2 separate regions of the Homo sapiens genome follow, and region 1 is linked to region 2. Evidence: promoter capture Hi-C in 16 types of primary human blood cells and fetal thymus (Javierre and others, 2016). All regions are on one chromosome and are shown on one strand. Each heading gives the region's core, a stretch centred on a gene start or on the middle of the fragment in contact. The rest is flanking DNA. Distances are from core to core; before and after follow the strand shown.

Region 1 (3,163 bases), core at 140-2,639, 280 kb after region 2:
ACATACCAGCAGTTTTAGATCCTCAGGATACAGATAAGGCTTCTGTTCTCATTTCTGAAGAGGAGGCAGACAATAAACAATTACATAAATGAGCAACGCAATTTCAAACAGTGACAAGGGCTATGCAGGGAATAAAAAGGAGTTTATATGACAGAAAGCAGTGGGGCCAAGAGTTGTGTGGGCTATTTCATACTGCGTGGTTTGGCAAAGTCCTCTCTGAAGAAGTGACAATTGAGTGAAGACAATGACAAGAAGGAGCCAGCCACTGGAAAAGCAAGGGGAAAAGCATTACAAAGAGAAGGGACTCTCTGTTTAAAGCTGGCGAAGGAAAAAAAATTTTTTTTTAAATAAAGAGAAGGAACACTCAGTATAAAGGACCAAAGGTGAGAACAACCTTGGCGTGTTCTGGAAACAGAGGCCAATGTAGCTGGAGCTACATTCCTTTACATTGAAAGGAAATAAATGAAAGGAAGAGTCGAAGGAGCTGATTGATGTTCAGATCAGATTATGTCTGTATTGATTGCTTTTGTTTTTATATGACAAGCTTGTGGTCATTTTTAAAAATAAAAATAACATATTAATGCTTTTAAAAAAAAGATTAAGAGAATCTGACAGACCAGCTCCATCACTGGCTGTGTCACCTTAGTCAAGTTAATCTCACTAAGCCTCAGTTTCTTCACTTGTAAAATGAGGAAAAGTACACTCACCTCAGAGGGCCGAAGTGCAAATTAAATTAAACCTATTTAAAAGGCTGTTTTTGTTAAGACTCTTTTGGATGCAAGGAACAGAAACCCAGTGAAGCTAGATCACGAATCAGAAATCCAAGGGCAGGAAGTGAAGTACAGATAAAGCTTATTAAGCCTGGAGCTGCAGGAAATTTCTGGATGAGGCATGGACCCTCTGCTCTGGAGCTTTACCATTAATGTAATTCATCTGCACTACATGTCTGCTTCTCTCTGTACATCTGCCCCAGCTTCCTCATTCAGCCAACCACCTTGAACTGCTCCCCCAGGATTTTAACAGGCACTTGACCTGATTCATAATGCTGCACCCACCTACCCAGCATCCTGGTCTACTGGACCTGTCAGCTCAGCTCCCCACAACTAACTGGCAACTCTCCTCTGGATCTCTTATTTCACATTCCCAAGAGAGCAATCTGATTGGCCCACCTCATCTTCTAAAGCTGGGCCATACAACTCACAGGTTGTGGGCTGGCCTTGGATCAGGTGCTGTATCCTAAAGGAAGGGTGGATGTAATACATAGTTAGTCCTTGCTTGATCATTTGGTAGGAGCTGTAAGTAGAGCCAGTGCTCCCAGAAGGGGATGTAAAGATGGCCAGTGGCCATCAAAGATAGTGGTGGCATCTCTGATGCATGTGTGCAGCAGAGTGACTGGAACATGGCAGGTGTTCAACAAATAGTCATAATTATTCACGGTAACATTATGCCACCTCTTACAGGAAGCCTTCCCAGAACTCTTAAGGTTCCCAAACTTTTTCACCCAGATCAGGACCCCTACTGCAGGAATCATCCAATTAAGAAATCAATGAAATTTCATTATACAGGACAGACTTTTATGGCCTTCTAGGTATAAAGCACTGTACTGGGCACTGGGAGGAAGGATACACAAATGAATGAGGCCCTTATCCTGGCCTCAAGGAGCTCTGAGGATAGTAAAAGGTAAAAGGCAAACTGAGCCATGAGAAATCCACAGATAGGGAGCTCTGGGAGTTCAGAGAAGGGCAAAAACTGTTGTTTATCCGTATGTATGCCTGTCTCCTGGATACCTCCCTTTAGATGTCCCAAAGGCACCTCGAACTAAATGTATTTAAAACTGATCTCATCTGCTCCCTCCCAAACCTGTTCCTCTTCTCAGATTCCCTGTCTCAGTGAGGCAAGTTCATCCAACCCAGTTGCTCAAGCTTGAAACCTGAGCTGCACCCGCTCACAATGTCAGCTGTTGCAGTTGCTAAAGTTGTCCCCGAACCTTTGGTGTGTGTTTGCCTTGCCCCAAAGGTCAGAACTAATAATAAACTTCTGCATTGCTGCAGGATACGGAAATTAAAACCAGCCTGGAGACAGACAAGACCCGGAGTCCACCAGGTTTGATTTCGGACTTGGCTTCTGATGTCAACGGGTATGATCCCTTTCAGGAAAGCGGGTCGACAAGAGCCTAAAACATGTTTATGACATTTTCCTGGTAATTCTGCTCCTAAATCGATATCCACCCACCCCTACTCCTACAGGAAAAGCTCTAAGCACAAAATTATTCCTTGCAGAGATATATTTTGGTGGTCAAACACTAGAAAGTAGTTTTAATATCCAACAAGAGAAGGGTTAAGTGAATTGTGGCACAGCTGTCTAATGGAACATTCTACAACCATTGCTGAGAGATGACGGCTGTGGAGATTCTATAGCAACAGAGAAAAATTATTATGCCATAACTAAGGATGCAGGGTTGTGTGTACACTCTGACTGCAACAACCTAAAAACTGCATGGCCTCAAGCTCTGCTGATGGACATTTAAAATTTCTCCTCTATTATTACTTTTTAAAAAGGCCTTAACTTTATGTCATGTATGGGTATCTCTGGGTTTGGGGTTTTTGGCTTGTTGTTTTCGTTTTTTCAGTCTTTTCCTTCCGTCAATCAACCGCCTTAAAAATGTGTCTTCTTTGTACCAGGCCCTCCCCGAGGTGCTGGTGATTCAAAGGTCAATCACCCACAACTCTTTCTCTGGGATGTCAGGGCAGAAGAGGAAACAGATACAAAAATAAACAGTTTCAAAAATATATGGGCCAGTCTTTATGGGCCCACTTGTGGACGTACGCAGGCACGGTCACCCCCTGGCGGCCACTCGACTACCAGCTCTTGGGTGGCTCTAACCTCTGGACAGCGGCTTCCACTCTCGGTGGCCAGCCCCAGCCTCGTTCTCCGAGAGAGTCCAAGACTCCTCCCTCTCCCTCCTTCTGGGGCCCTCCATCCCCTAGTAGGCGTCTCAGCCTGGGCCTGGCCCAGACAAATCCGACCCTGTTACTCTCACCGGAGCTCCTCCCTCCCCGAAAGCCTCACTCCGGCTGTGAGCTGCAAGATTACGTCATTGTCAATGGTTCGCATGCGCCCTCACCACTGGACAATTGGCGCACCCCTGCCGCAGGCGGGCGTA
Region 2 (3,317 bases), core at 1-2,500:
CCATCTGGTTTCCAAGGCCCAGCTCCTTTTGCCTCCGAGAGAGTCAGTTCTACGACCCCACCCCTTTACACGCCCCCTCCGCAACTCGATAGTGCGCATGCGCACCGACTAGAGGCGCCCCCACCCCCCATCTTAGGCCCACCTCTATCCCAAAAGAACCATTCTTCAATGCCCTCCGCGCGCATGCGCCTTGGTAAACCGGACAGTTTCTAACCAGCTCAATCCCACATCTGCCCCCTGCTCTCAGAGCAACAGAACATCTTGGCGCCACCCCGACCCACTCTTTCTAACTGCATCACATCTCGATCCAACCCTTCCCCCAACACTAGCCCCCTCCCTCCGCTCTGCAGTACCACTCCGCACCGCCCCTACCCCAACACCGCCCATCTCTCCTCTGCGGTACTGCCACGCACCGCCCCTTCCCAATACACCCCCCTCCCTCCGCTCTGCAGCATTTCTCTTCATCTTCCCTTCCTTTAATAAGCCCCCTCCCTCCGCTCTGCGGTACGTCTCTGCACCACCCCTTCCCCAACCAACACCACTCCCCCCTCTTTCCACGTCTGCAAGTGTGCAGCTCCGCCCTTTCTGCAACATGAATACCTCACCCCCAAATCCAACTGTATGAACCTTCTGTGTATTCCTGTTCTCAAACCCTACCAGGTCCTGTCTCTTCCCTTTCAAACCGGAACCAACCGGGTCATATCCCCTCCTTTCTCCTGTCTGAGTCTGGTCCTTTCCGTTGCTCAAAAGGGATGCTGCCCACTCTTATCTCTGGGTCCCGATCCCTCCATTCTGTGGCCCAAACGGGGTACTGCCCCCTTTCTCCAGCCTAAACGGAGTCCTGCCGTCTCCTATCTCCCTCCCGAACTGTGTGTATCCTCCTCCCCTCTTGCTACCGTCTGAAGGATTTCTCGATCCTTCCTTTCTGCGGTCCCAACTAGGTCTGCATCCCTCCCTTTCACGGCCCGAACCGAGTCCAGATCGTTACTTTCTGTGGCCCAAAGGGGATTCTGCCTCCTACTTCCTCCCGTGCGAACTGGGTCCAGGCACCGCTAAAGGCGACTTTGATGCGGTTAGGTCCCAAACCTCCAGCAGGTTTTCTTCAAACCTTAGGGGCGTGTGGAGTCAGGCACGTCGAAGCCGCAGCCAGGAAGCCCCCACAGGGTCTTCACTAAAGCCAGGTACCTCAGCTCACCTCGTCTTCTTGAATCCAGAAGGCGTCTGCTCTCTCCAAGCCTCTCCTTGTGTCTGAGCCTATCCCCCTCCCTGGCCGGAAGTGGTCCTGCCTCTTTCCGCCTCCAGAGGGGGGTCTCCGTTCCTGCCTGTCAGTCTCCTCCCCTCCATACCTACTTTCAACTTTCCATTCTCCTCAATGTAGCTCCCTTTTTCTTCTTACTACCCCTATTCAGTTATCACTCCCTCTTATTCTCCATTTGACTTCTCTATTCCCCACTCTGTATCTCCGTTCCTATTTGATTCTCCTGTTTCCCCTAGGAGGAATGTAGTTCTCTGAACTCCCACACCAACCCTTCCTACAGACCCTCTATCCCAACACTATTTACATAGTGTTGTTATACCTTGTGTCTATGTCTCTCTTCCCTAGAGCTGCTCTGGAGCAGGGGACTAGGTCATATTCATTTCTGTTTTTCAAGTGTTACCACATTAAAACATTTAGAGGTTCTAAACACTAAAAGATAGGGTGCCCGTCCATCTTATGCAATTCAGAATAAAAACAGTAATGTATAAAAATCTATGAAAAGTTTTTATTGATCCCACAATGACTATATTGATGTTTTAACAATATCAGTTTGTACTTAGACTGTCTCTTGTGACATGGTGCACTGTGCCCCCATGCAGAAAACAATTCATGACATTTATCTATTCCATCAATCATTCAAAAGAGAGCAAGGATAACTACACATATGTCAAATAAAATAGACTTAAAGTCAAAAACCATAAAAGATCTTAAAGGTCATTATATAATGATAATGAGATAAATTCATCGTGAATATCGAATAATTATAAACATATTTAATATATGCACCCAACATAGAAGCACCTAAATATATAAAACAAATATTAATAGATCTGAAGGGAGAAGTAGACTGCAATACAATAATGGTAGGAGACTTCAAGACCCCATCTTCAACAATTCACAGATCATCCAGACAGAAAATCGATAGGGAAACATTGAACTTGAAATACACTTTAGACAAAAAGGACCTACGGAATATTTTATCCAATAGAATATATAATATTCTCAAGCACACATAGAAAATTCTCCAGGATAGATCATAAGTTAGGCCAAAAACAAGTCTTTTTTATTTTATTTTATTATTATTCTACTTTAAGTTTTAGGGTACATGTGCACAATGTGCAGGTTAGTTACATATGTATACATGTGCCATGCTGGGGTGCTGCACCCATTAACTCGTCATTTAGCATTAGGTATATCTCCTAATGCTATCCCTCCCCCCTCCCCCCACCCCACAACAGTCCCCAGAGTGTGATGTTCCCCTTCCTGTGTCCATGTGTTCTCATTGTTCAATTCCCACCTATGAGTGAGAATATGCGGTGTTTGGTTTTTTGTCCTTGCAGTAGTTTACTGAGAATGATGATTTCCAATTTCATCCATGACCCTACAAAGGACATGAACTCATCATTTTTATGGCTGCATAGTATTCCATGGTGTATATGTGCCACATTTTCTTAATCCAGTCTATCGTTGTTGGACATTCGGGTTGGTTCCAAGTCTCTGCTATTGTGAATAATGCCGCAATAAACATATGTGTGCGTGTGTCTTTATAGCAGCATGATTTATAGTCCTTTGGGTGTATACCCAGTAATAGGATGCCTGGGTCAAATGGTATTTCTAGTTCTAGATCCCTGAGGAATCACCACACTGACTTCCACAATGGTTGAACTAGTTTCCAGTCCCACCAACAGTGTAAAAGTGTTCCTATTTCTCCACATCCTCTCCAGCACCTGTTGTTTCCTGACTTTTTAATGATTGCCACTCTAACTGGTGTGAGATGGTATCTCATTGTGGTTTTGATTTGCCTTTCTCTGACGGCCAGTGATGGTGAGCATTTTTTCATGTGTTTTTTGGCTGCATAAATGTCTTCTTTTGAGAAGTGTCTATTCATGTCCTTCACCTACTTTTTGATGGGGTTGTTTGTTTTTTTCTTGTCAATTTGTTTGAGTTCATTGTAGATTCTGGATGTTAGCCCTTTGTCTGATGAGTAGGTTGCAAAAATTTTCTCCCAGTCTGTAAGTTGCCTGTTCACTCTGATGGTAGTTTCTTTTGCTGTGCAGAA

What was found. The method cuts DNA at HindIII sites, captures the fragments that hold promoters and counts their contacts. A CHiCAGO score of 5 or more calls a contact.
Region 1: a fragment that was not itself captured here is called in contact with the fragment with the promoter of TRO in region 2 in 1 of 17 cell types (fetal thymus); the score reaches 6.1 in fetal thymus.

Annotation. Positions count from the first base shown.
Region 1 is chrX:54,639,719-54,642,881 of GRCh38, reverse strand. It overlaps a transcript of GNL3L not described here. Among named protein-coding and RNA genes, the nearest start is that of GNL3L, 110 kb to the right of the region's middle. RefSeq lists an enhancer at 2,938-3,163. The HindIII fragment of the contact is 1,071 bases long and covers 854-1,924 here.
Region 2 is chrX:54,918,757-54,922,073 of GRCh38, reverse strand. TRO (trophinin) reads right to left here and starts at 1,250. Exons shown (of 13, transcript NM_001039705.3): 1 at 1,196-1,250. The HindIII fragment of the contact is 6,316 bases long and covers 1-3,317 here.